Linked DNA regions of Homo sapiens: region 1 is linked to region 2. Evidence: promoter capture Hi-C in human tissues and cell types (Jung and others, 2019). All regions are on one chromosome and are shown on one strand. The core of a region is centred on a gene start or on the middle of the fragment in contact, and the rest is flanking DNA. Distances in the headings are between cores, read along the strand shown.

What was found. Contacts are between HindIII fragments. The study calls those that stand out against the background at their distance.
Region 1: a fragment that was not itself captured here is called in contact with the fragment with the promoter of DAD1 in region 2 in 1 of the 25 tissues and cell types used here (hippocampus).

The regions. Positions count from the first base shown.
Region 1 is chr14:21,097,784-21,103,953 of GRCh38, forward strand. It overlaps TMEM253 (transmembrane protein 253), which reads left to right and starts at 3,283. Exons shown (of 7, transcript NM_001395467.1): 1 at 3,283-3,401; 2 at 3,525-3,668; 3 at 4,082-4,192; 4 at 4,281-4,337; 5 at 4,622-4,732; 6 at 4,850-4,996; 7 at 5,356-5,941. The coding sequence starts at 3,561. The coding sequence ends at 5,475. It overlaps ZNF219 (zinc finger protein 219), which reads right to left and starts at 872. Exons shown (of 5, transcript NM_016423.3): 1 at 529-872. RefSeq lists enhancers at 554-1,054, 5,514-6,170. The HindIII fragment of the contact is 4,406 bases long and covers 1,974-6,170 here.
Region 2 is chr14:22,587,974-22,594,180 of GRCh38, forward strand. DAD1 (defender against cell death 1) reads right to left here and starts at 1,251. Exons shown (of 3, transcript NM_001344.4): 1 at 974-1,251. The coding sequence starts at 1,184. RefSeq lists enhancers at 248-889, 890-1,531. The HindIII fragment of the contact is 2,964 bases long and covers 481-3,444 here.

The DNA.
Region 1 (6,170 bases), core at 2,927-5,426, 1.5 Mb before region 2:
GTTTGGGACGCAAAGAGGGAAGCACCCCCCATCCTTTCCCCTCCCCCGCCACCCCGTGCTTCCAGAGAGTTTGGGCTCCTTCCCCCTCCCCCACCAGCCCTACCTGGGCCGGGGGTTGGGGGGTGCACATCCACTCAGGCTCGCGGCTCTGCCGCCCCTCACCCCCAGGTCCCTCGCGCCCTGCCTTCGGGCCCCTACAAAGACACCCGCCACCTCCCCCGCCACATCCCCCCCGTTGGCCCTTCCCTTTGGTGTCTGCTCCCCCAGCTCTTCCACCTGGCCCCCCCTCCCTTGGGGCCCCCCAGCTCTCCAGGCTTCCGAGGCCGCCACCCCCACCCCGCCCCCCCAGGAGCTCTGGGCGAAGTTTGCTTGGGGCCGAGCCGGCGCCCCTCCCCCGCCCCCGCCCCCTGCACCTGCTCCGAGCCGGGCGCGCTGAGCGGGCCCCCCCTCCGGGAGGGGGGAGGGGGCCGGGGGCGGGGGCCGGGTGGCGGACGGGGGGGCCCGGGAGTCGGGGGAGCGGCTACTCACGAGCCCCGGGCGGGCGGCGGCGGAGCGGGCGGCGGCGGCGGCGGCGGCGGCGGGCGGCGGGCCGGCGGCGCGGGCGTCAGCGTTACGTGGGGCCGGGGGAGATGCGCCGGGCCCCGGCCCCCCCGCCCCCGGCCCGGCCCCCGCCCCCTCCCCGGTCCCCCGCCCCCGGCCCTGGCCCGCATTGTGTGCGGCGGGAGGCGGCCCGGCCATTAGCATGCGGGGGGCGGCGCGGCGGGGCTGGGAGCCGCGCGGGAGCCGGGCTCTGGCTCCGGGGACAGGGAGCTGGGGACCCCGGGAGCCGCGAGAGGCGGCCGCCAGGGGCGGGGTGCGGGCGGTTTGGAGACGGGGGGCGCTGTCGGAGGGAGGGAGGAAGGGAGGGAGCGGGGGTGGGGCGCACAGAGGATTCCAACAGGAGACTGGAAGAGATTTTGAAAGGTCATCTCGTCCTTCCCCCAGCCTCCAAGCAGCACTGCCCCTCCCTCCCTAAACCCGGACATACCAGGGAAGGAGTTGGCTCTGCCGCTCTTTCTGCCCCAACATGCACAGACTCGGGAAGTTCTTCCTGGGGTTTTATCTCAAAGCCTCTCCCTTACAATTTCTGTCTCTCTTTTGGGGGAGGAGGAGGGGCGATTATAGAGATAGTTAATGTCGGCCGTATAAGAAACATTATTAAAGTTACTCTTCGGTCCTTTCCGTTCTTGATAAACAATTCCTGCGCCTTCCTCTCGAATTCTATTTTCCATTCCTCAAGTCACTTTAATGGCTCTTCAATACAACAAATATTTACTGAGTGCTTACTAAGTGCCAGGCACTGGGCTCAGCGCTGTGAGGGATGAGAAAGAAGTGGTACCTTCCTTCCAGGCGATTGTAGTCTAGACTACAAACTGGTAAGTAGTATACTCAGATTTAGTCAATATTTACTGAATGCCTGTTCACCTATCTAATAGTATATAATCTTTCCAATAACCCTCTATAATTAAATTAGCCCCCATTTACAAGTAAGAAAAATGAGGCTTCAGGAAGTCTGTTTCCCCAGTGGCCTGCAGGCTCGGGGATCCTCAGTGCAAGCCCAACATCTCACATCGCCACCAAATAAAATCAATGCACGTGGGAATTGAGGAGGAGTAGACACACAGCAGTTTTCTGGATCTCTTTAAAACGTGACTCCCACTCCCCGGGAAAGAAAAGAGTAGATACAATGACCCGCCGATGTTGGCACAGCACTGATGGGGCAGGAGTGGCTTACAAAAGATCACTTGCCTCCCAGGACCCTGCCTCCCTCCTCGTACTAACTTCTAGAGTCTTCTGGCGCAGTCTCCTCTTATCGTCAACAACAAGAAATAATAATAGTGATGATGATCATAGCCACTAACATTGAGCACTTGTGTACCAGGTACTGGGCTAAGCTCTCTTCCATGCTGAAAGCAACCCCTTGAGACTGGTATTATTAACTTCCTTTTATAGATAAGGGAACAGAGAGATTAAGCAACTTGCCAAGGGCACCTAGGTAGATCTGGGATTTGTTTTGATCTATAGAGTATATTTGGGCCCAGCTGGTTCTGCTTCCGACTGTAGAAATGTGTCCCCAGCTTCCTTCTGAATAACACTTTTAGTGTATGGGCATCAGACTTATCGGTGTGACCTCATCAGCACCACTAATAGTTATTAAACACCCACCCTGAATCAACAACTCTTCACAGTCATATTGTTAGCCCCCTTTTATCAGTGAATAAACTGAGGTGCGAATAGGTAGAAAAACATATCTATCAGGACAGACACAGTGGCCCACACCTGTAATCCCAGCAGTTTGGGAGGCCAAGCAGGGAGGATGGCTTGAGCCCAGGAGTTTGAGACCAGCTTAGGCAACATTGTGAGACGACCCTGTCTCTACAAAAAATTTAAAAATTAGCCAGGCATGGTGGCATGTGCCTGTGATCCCAGCTACTTGGGAGACTGAGGCAGGATGATTATTTGTGCCCAGAAGGTGTTGGCTACAGTGAGCCATGATCATGCCACTGCACTCCAGCCTGGGTGACAGTGAGCCCCTGTCTCAATAATATAATAATAATAATAATAATAATGTATCCAAGATCACACAGATGGAGAAGCAGCAGAGCTAAGATTCCAGCTCAGGTCTGTCTGGCTATGAGGCACCTTCTCTCTCAAAAATATTAATTGTTGCAATAGCATCCTTCCCAAGACTCACTATTTGAGGACCATGAGATAGATAGATAGATAGATAGATAATGTCCAGTTGCAGGTTATCATTGAATCAAAAACAATCCCCACCATAAACAGGGTCCCCCCCATCCATTGAGTCAGTGTTCAGTTCAGAGTAAAACCTTCAAGAAAGAAGGAAGGGAGACTGTCCAGAAAGTGAGAGGCAAGAAAGCCCCTGGAATTCAACCTTACCTGGTCTGGGGGCAAAGCTGCAAGTAGTAATGACAGGGGACCAATCCAGACAGAAAGTAGGATCTCTAGGGAAGGGCACATAATTTGAGGAGGAAGCCAAAGAAAGGAGTAAGATCATATGGAAATGAGGGGGAATTGAGGTCCAGAGTGATAGTGTCCATGGGGATGAGGTAAGTGAAACCAGAAAAGGAACCCAGGATGGGCAGAAATGAGGGTAATGAGAAATGGGAACAGAGTGAGGTCGGGCTAGACATCTTGTGGAGTGAACTGAGGCCGGTATCTACCCAGGGCCACTCCCTAGATCCTTAGGCCTTCATAGAAACCTTTGCCCCACCACACCCCATCCCTGACAGCCTTCCTCTGCCAGGACAAGTTTGTCGTCTGCTCTGAGCTATCAAGCCCCTTAGGAGACCTAGGACCCAGCTGGGTCCCATCCCTTTGGAGTAGCTGCTTCAGACTAGGTAGGTGTGAGGACCTGGACCTCAAATCCCTGGATATTGGGAGTGGGCAGAGGTGTAGCTGAAAGATACGTTGTTGCATGTCCTGTCTCCTAATAGACAGAACCTATAACGCATTTTTCCCAGCCTAGGAAGCACCTAATTCTTGTGGGCAAAGGAGCCATGGAAGATAGAGCTGGTGAGCAAGAGCAGGAGAGACACAGCCTTCGTCTGGAAAAGCTACAACACTGGGCAAGGCACAGGCAGAGTGGGCACCTCTTGGTGCTAGCGGTGAGGCCAGGCTACCCCATCCCAGGTCTCAGCATGTCCACTTCTACCCAATTCAATTCCATCCATCCATCCATCCATGTTAAGTGAGCACCTACCATGTGCCAGAAACTGAGCTAGGTTCTGAATGGGAGGAGGGTAGAGGAAAACATAGAAATAAACAAGGCAAGACCCTTAATCTCCCAAGTAGCTTCCATCTTGTGGGGGAAAACATACAGGTAAGTAACTAAACTACAATATGAGGCAGAAAAAATTAAATGATACTTAATTTTTAATGATCACGTCCTTGCTCTGGGTTGACTGCTTTCCTCCACCCTGCATTCAATCCCATTTCCTGATCTCTAAAGAGGTAGGAGTTACGAGAAGGGAGGGAATCCCTGACAGTTCCTCCCCAATTACCCTACCCTTACCCCCAGGTGAGCCAGCTATGGCTGGCAGTGGTTGTGGTGCCCCTTGCTGTCTCAGTCGCCTGCCTGAACTCTGATTGTCACATGGCCACAGCGCTGCCTCTTGGGCCTGGAGCCTCAGTAAGACCCACCACAAGGGAGGGTGGAAGGTCCCAGGGCCCCTTCCTAACGGGACCAGAGCTCAACACTTGCCCTTCTCACCATTCAGGGTCTCCTCACTGGGACTGTCACTCTGGAGCTTCGCAGAGCACCCCGCCTTTGGAAGGTGAGAGGGAAGAAAACGCAGCACTGTCCTCCCACTCCCTAAAACAGACACCTACAACCCTCAGCCTAGGAAGTAAGTGGCTAAGTGTTGACTCATTCTCTCAGCTGTCACCACTGACTGGCCTCAATCACTGAGGAGGAAAGCAAAAAAGTTAAGAGGGCTTATGGCCCTGTTTGGAGGCTGAGAAGCAGAAGCTGAGTTTTGTCTTCAGCTAGGCTGCAAGTGGGGATTGAGGTTGGAATGACTCCCCTAGGCTGGGCAGGGCTGAGCTGGCTCACTGGCAGGTGCGGGCCATGATGATATTCAACACCTTCAACTTGATCTTGGGTTTCATAGTGGTGGTGGTCGAGGTGATGAAGACAGCCTTGGGGCCTGCCCCAACTGCCTCCTCCCAGGTACTGGTCAATGAAGGAGAAGGTGGGAGGATAAGGAGGCAAGAGGAGGTGGGAAGGGAAAAGGGCAGGGGCAAACAGGTGCGGGGTCCCTGCATTCTCAGCCCTGTCTACCTGCAGCATGCTGGCTTGCTGGTGCTGGAACTCAGTGCTGAGGCCTTCACCCTAGGGGGAGTGCTGGTCTCAGTGCACGCCCTATTCTTGCTGAGCCAGAGGAAACCAGGATGCTGCAGGAGCCAGAGTCTGCACTATCAAGAGCTGCAGGAGGTATGGGGGCAGGGAAGAAAGCACGAATAGCTAGCTGCCAACTAATTTTTCCACTGCCTATCCTGGTCAGTGGCACTTAAGGGAAAATAATGGGGCAGGAGAGAAAAGAAGAGGTCCTAGAATGAAACTGATTGGCTTTCTCTGGCTTTGAACATTTCTCCCCTAATGGTGGGTAAGAGGAAACTGGGAATCCAAATGATTGAGGTTAAAAGAGTGGGAAAGCATTAGGAAGCTGCCTAAATATTGGCAGGACTATGGGAAACAGGATAGAAAATTGGGCAGGAGGAAGCAGTTGTTTCTGTCTGGGGTTTCTCCTTTCTCACCTCTACAATTTGCTCACACCTGTCTCTGGTTTTCAGGGCTTCTCTGAGTTGGAAGAGGTTCCTGGTTTGGAGAATGGTCCCACGGTGGCCAGCACAGGAGCAAATGAGAGGGTGGGACAGCGGGAACAGACACGTGCTGCTCTCCTTCCACCCTGAGAGAATGCTCTCCAGACATTCCTGCATCCCACCCCACCAAACTCAGAAGCTTGCTGGGATCCTTCGAGTCCAATAGGAAGTCCGGGAGTGCCTTCAGTTTTCACTCAAAGCAGGCCCTTTTTTCGTTCCTTCCCTGTTAGGGGAAGATACACCTGGACGAGAATATATCCTCACCTCACCACCCTGAAAAGCTGCTTTCTCCCTTGCATCCATATCCTCTCTTCCTGTCACCTCCCCATACAGCTTCACATTTGCCTCATCGCACTTTTCTTTTCTGTCCACCTTTCATAATCCCATCCACTCCAAATCCCGGACCCTGCACACGCCAACTCCCTGAATCCAATTCAGGAGTGCCCCAGTTCCCCTTTCGATCCATCTCCTTTCTACTGTAGCGGAGACTACAAGTCCCAGGATGCCCCGCTAGCCCGTGACCGGCTAGGAAATAAAGAGCCTTCTCTCCGCGGTAGGGGCGCTGTTGGATGTGCTGAGTGACGCGAGGCGGGGAAGTCGGGGCCTAGCCTGGCGCTTTCTCGGACGCGACCACTGGCCCCGCGTTCGGGGAGGAGCCGGGCGGGCGGTCCTGCACTGGCGTGCCGCTCCCCCAGCCACTGCAATAGAGAGCTGGATCTGGGTCCCCAGCCCTGCGCTGGCAGCTTCAGAGACTGGCGAGGGCTCGGAGCTGACGCTTGGCAGAG
Region 2 (6,207 bases), core at 1-2,500:
GATCTGCCTACCTCGGCCTCCCAAAGTACTGGGATTACAGGCATGAGCCACTGTGCCAGGCCTCCAGACAATTCCAATGCTGTATTTTGTCTGTACCCCAACTAGACCATAAACTCTTTACGGATAAAGAACATGTGCCAAAGCTTTTACCATAATGCCTCATATTGGACTGAAAATACAACTGATGACCTGACTGATGATCACACTGAAAAGAAACCATGAATGCTGGCATGTTTTCAAAGTCAAAGTAGCAGGTGATACCAGTGATAGAGGCCACGCCTGTTTTCAGTATTCACTGAATCCCCGTTGGGCAAGAAAAGTCAGATTTTAACAAAAATTGATGGAGACTGTTCTCGCTAAATATAGCAGTCTACAAGGTTACCAAATCCTGGAATCAAAAGGAAAAATAAGGCTAAAATAGAGTTATGTGAACAAAAATTGGGTTCAGGACAGTGAAATAACAGCTTCCTCAACAAGAAAAAAAGTAGTAGCAGCTAAAAGGCAAAATCAAGTAAAGGATGATTCAACAAGAAAAGCACCAGTATTTATATTCTTTGCACTTTCATTGAAACGTTTCACCGGAGATTGGTAATGATTAGGCCAAGATGACAGAGATGATTCAAGGTTGGGTTTTTCATTTGAAAAGTCTACTAATTTTAGAGTTGTGTTAAACCTAAGTTAAAGTTGGAATAGGGTTTTCCCCGGACCAATATTAAGTGAAGTGGATCACCAAGTGGAGTAGCGGCACGAAGGTGGTTTCTTTAGACTTTTAAGTCCAACTCCTACGGAGCCGTTTGGTATTAGGCATATAATCTAAGCTTTCTGAGCCTCAATTTCCCCATTCACAACAAAAGGGCAATGCAGGCTCTTCTCATAACTTCAAGGGGCGGTGGTCTGATATAGAGTACTATGAAAACAAAAGCAGCACACCAAAGTAACACATTATTATTATGATCACTTATAGAACCATTACCCGCTAGGATGAAACTCCCCACACAAGAGATGAAGCCCGAGAGAAAAGAGTTGAAGGGGAAGGTCCCCACGAGGAGACAGTAACCGAACTGCAGCGCCCCGGTCAGCAGTATATACAGCAGGTACGCGTCCAGCAACTTCAGACGCTGCGGAGTGGAGCTCAAGTACTCTTCTAAGAACCGCGAAATGACAGACACTACCGACGCCGACATAACTGCACGCAAGGTACTCCGGTCCGCGCCCCAAACTCTTGGAGGACCCGTCGACCACACCGGATGTGCTGTTTGCGCATGCGCACCCTCGTGACCTAACTCCGCCCTCCCCGGTGTGCCAATTTGCGCAGGCGCTGAGGCCGGCCAGGGCGCGTAACAACTAATGCGCAGACGCGGACTGCATCAACAGACTCAACTACAACTCAGAAAAGTTAATGCGTCTGCGCAATGGCCCTATCAATGAGCTGGGGACGTGTACTCTTTCTGTTCTGTTTCCGCCCGTCAGCTCGGTGACGCCCACAGTTGCTCTGGCAACAAGACACACTGGGAGGAAGAGGGGAATAAGCTTTACTGGGGACCGCGTAGCTAACCAGAGGTATCCGGCTCTCTCTGGTCCTTCTGAGTCCTGGAAGATTTAACGGTTTGCATCTACTTTGAGGCAATGCCTGGCGTTCCTGGGGTTTGATACCAGCCTGACCCTAATTCTGTTAAGGGCGCTGTCTGCAGATGTCTGTCACAGATCATTGGAACAAGTCAAGTTCATCCGCAGTGAGACCCGGCGCGGCCAATCACTGCACAGGCCCCAGTTTAGACTTAATTACTTGGGGGAGTGAGTGGGTGTGGTGAGGGGCGGGAGGCAGGGAGGAAGCCTGACCTCAGCAGGGTTCTGAACTGGAACTCGGGATCTGGCCCTGCAATGCCAACATTTATTGGGCGCCTCCTTGGGGCCTGACGTTGTACTAACTTGTAGGGACTCTCACGTGAATCAGATATATTTGCAGCCTTAAAAGAGCTGGTGAAGGGAGGGACAGCTGTCGAATGTCGTGCAAAAAGCATATGGTCAAGTTTAGCAGCTCTCTTTCCGCAAGCTGGTATCTTGAACCTGGTGTAATATCCCGGGATGTCAGCGTCGAAAGGCCCGAAAGAGCATGCCTGGTTCAACCCTACTCTCTCCAACTCATTTTGCAGAAGAAACTGAAATGGTTTCAGGTTTTGTATTTTAACAAGTGGGATTATTTTGAGGGTTTTAACTGTTTTTTTTTTTTTTTTTGAGACGGAGCCTTGCTCTGTCGGCCAGGCTGGAGTGCAGTGTCGCGATCTCGGCCCACTGCAACCTCCGCCTCCCTAGTAGCTGGGACTACAGGCACGCGCCACCACGCCCGGCTAATTTTTGTATTTTCAGTAGAGACGGAGTTTCACCATTGTTAGCCAGGCTGGTCCCGAACTCCTGACCTTGTGATCCGCCAGCCTCGGCCTCCCAAAGTGCTGGGATTACAGGCATGAGCCACTGCACCCGGCCTGTTTTAACTTTTTTTAAGAAATTAAGTTCTGGCTTTCGTTGCCCTTTTAATTTCACGTGAATCCGACCTTCTAGACCCAGTTCATCTCACCTTTTAGCTGTAAGTTTTTCCACACATGACCAGGTACTTTATTTTCAGCTTCTTAATATTTTGAACTGTACGTGAGCAAAATTCCTAAAACAGCAGGTGAACAACAGCGTTCCTGCCTTTTCACTTTTTTTTTTTTTTTTTTTTGAGATGAAGTTTTGCTCTTGTCACCCAGGCTGGAGTGCAGTGAATGGTGCGATCTCGGCTCACTGCAACCTCCACCTCCTGGGTTCAAGCCATTCTCCTGCCTCAGCCTCCCGAGTAGCTGGGATTAGAGGCACCTGCCACCACGCCCGGCTAATTTTTGTATTTTTAGTAGAAACGGGGTTTCGCCATGTTGGCCAAGCTGATCTTGAACTCCTGACCTCAGGTGATCTGCCTGCTTCAGCCTCCCAAAGTGCTGGGATTATAGGAGTGAGCCACTGCGCCGGCCCCTTTTCACTTTTTATTTGCCTTTAGACTGGAAACTCTACACGCATTAACTAACGGATGTATTATCAGTGGTGATCAAAGCCTTACTTAAGTTCTAGAAAGAAGAGAAATAACCTAAGAAACCTTTAGAGTCTATTTGAATAGATAGATTTATATTCATACCCGTGGAGATTTGTGCAGCTATATGAACATAAGTTCAGCCTAAACCTATGTTGCTGAGAAAGAAAAAAAAAGAGTGGATAACAAGCTGGTTCTTATTTCAATATAATATGGCAGGAAGCATCAATTTCTCTGACAAGTTGAACCTTTCTCTCTGCCTCATCAACAAGTAGGAGGGTAGCTTCCTCACGAATATTCAACTTCAAACTTTACAGGCTAGGCTGATGCTTTTTAATCATTCAGGTGTGGATTCTTCAGGGAGTTTCTGTTCCATCAGCCAGGCTCCTTCCAGTGTTTTCTCCCTTATGTTTTGTCTGCCTTTGATCCATGTCAACTATCATCATTAAGATCTCCCCAGGAACTCTCACAGGAGAGAAGAAGAGATGAAAAACACCAAATGGACTTATTGAATGCATTTGTTTCTGAGACCTGCTAGTCACACCAATATACTACACTAGGGCTTTTCTGAACTACTTAAAACAGCAAGAAAAGGCCTACTTCTCTATTCGGTTTATGATTCTATAATCATTGAAACATTTTTAACTGATCTGTCAATAGGAAATTGCTAACACTAGTGTTGATTTCAATTAGTTTAAATCAGAATATTAATATAGTTTAAAATTCTTGTCCAGAGTAGTGGATAAGAGTGCAAGCTCTAGAATCAGACAGTCCTAGGTTTGAACCTTGATTCTGCTGTTTACTAGTTGTCTAATCTGGAACAAGTTACTCAGTCTGACAGTCTCATTTTCCTTTTCTATAAAACAGAAATAACAATACCTGGCTCATTGAAATTATGTGAGGATTAAATGAGATAATGTTAAGCATTAAGCTGTTAGCATAGTGTTTGGCAGACAGTAAATGTTCAGTAAATGTTTGCTCTTATTAACTATCATTAATCCTAGTAATTAACCATGTCTGCTTCTCCTAGTTCTCTGAATGATTAAAAGTTAGCCAAACTACAGCGCCCCCAATAATTTGGGTATGCAAAAGATAGCACTGGAGGGACTGCAACTCAAATGGCTCTTAAAGGGCAGATCTAATTTATAAGCTGAAACTGAAGTCAGAGTATACTTTAGGGGTTTCATTACATAAAACAATGGAAGAGTGGAGGAGCAAGAGGGTTCCCTTAAGGGCAAAGTCCATGATTTTACATCATACATCCTCTACAAAAAGAAATCACATTATTTACCAAAAGAAACACAAATCCTCCAAAGTTTGAGTAGACAATAACTCTTCTAAAGGAAATCTCCGCATGGAAAAGAATGTCTTTTCCATTTCCTTTCCCTTGCATTGTCACGTTTGCCTTAAGATTCCCCTCTTTGCTTCTGTTAACTGCTATTGCATATATAATCTCTACCTTCTAAACTTTGGCCCCAGTGTGACCAAAACCCCCTCTCCTTGTTTCCTAATAGAACAGATAAAATAGGTTATTATTTTCAGAAATAAAAATTTAAGGAGAATCAAGTTGCAAACAGCACAAAGTCAAATTTTTAAAGTATCAAGTTTCTGATCAAGTCCTAGTAAAGCAGTAAATATCTTCAGTGAACCCATATCCCTTCATCCTTTCAGTTTCTGATGAAGTGGAACAACTTTTCAGCTCCTTTGTCTGGTTTCCCTCCCTCCTAGCTGTTTGGGAGTCTCAAAAAAGCCTCAGTTTTGCCCCCTTGCTGGCACCCGAAAGTGAGTCCACTATATTGTCCTTTCCAAGAGCAGATCACTCACCACAACATGGGGCTGAAATCATCAGTGCCTGAGCAACAGTGTGCAATAGAATTTTCTGTGATAATGTCTCTGCACTGCCCAGTATAGTAACTGCTAGACATATGTGGCTATTGAGCACTTAAACTAGTTAGTGTTGTAACCCAAATGCAGGTTCACTCTCTCGCTGCTTGCAGAGTCCACTTAACAAGAGTGAGATCTGGTATAAAGAAAATGATATTTTATTCCAAAGCTACCTTAGGGGAGGAAGTACAGGTTTTCTGCCTTAAGGGTACCATTTCACTTTTGGAGCAGAAAGAGGGTGCTTTTGAAATGGGGCATGGAATGCTGGCATGAATGGCACGAGGGGAGGAAGCGAGTGGTTGGGGGGTCTGCATACTACCTTCAGTGCCTTATCTACTGGACAGTGACTGCTGGTGCCTTTTGTGGGCAGGACTGGGTTGTAAAAGTGGCCAAAACTCTCCAGGTAAGAGAAAGCTTTGTAGCAGGCATACTTTGGGTTGTAGATAGGCTGTTGTCTCTCAAGGCAACCTCCCGGTGGGTGAGAGTTCCTCTCTGGAGCTTCTAAGCACATAGTTAGATGAACCTGCCCCATAGGGAGTGTCTGATAAAGAGGAGGTAAAAGGCTACAATTGCATTTCTAAAGAGCTAAGGAGGAAGTGAGGAGAAGGGGGAAAAGAAGAGAGATTTTTTAAAAATCATTAAACTATCTCTTAGAAAAATGGGGATACTTGGTTACAGTGTGACTAAGGAAATTTTATTTGGCTTTTATTTAAATCTAAGTAGCCACTTGTGGCTAGTGGCTGTCATTGGACAGAACAACTTATGAGCTATTCCACTCATTTCTATGTTCAGTCAAAGAGATATACCTTGTTCACAGTTTATTCAAATGGCAGTGATACCCATTTGAAACAAGAATAATCTATAGCTGCCAGGCCTGAGCTATCAGTTTATCAGCTCCACCTACTTTTGGAATACTCAGTGATGACTTACAGTCATAGAAAGAGGGTTTGTAACCTCCCAAGGAGTTCACCTTGCCCGCTGCCTAGACAGAGCTGGTTCATCAAGACTGGGCAATTAGAATGGAGAAAGAGTAATTCATACACAGCCAGCTGTGCAGGAGAACGGAATTTTATTATTACTCAAATCAGTCTCCCCAAGCATTCGGGGATCAGAGTTTTTAAGGACAACTTGGTTGGGGAAGCCAGTGAGCCACGAGTCCTGATGGTCGGGGAAGAAATAATAAGGAGTCCAAGCTGTCTTCTTGCCCTGAGTTCCTGGGTGGGGGGCGCTGCAAGATCAGATGAGCCAGTTCATCAATCTGA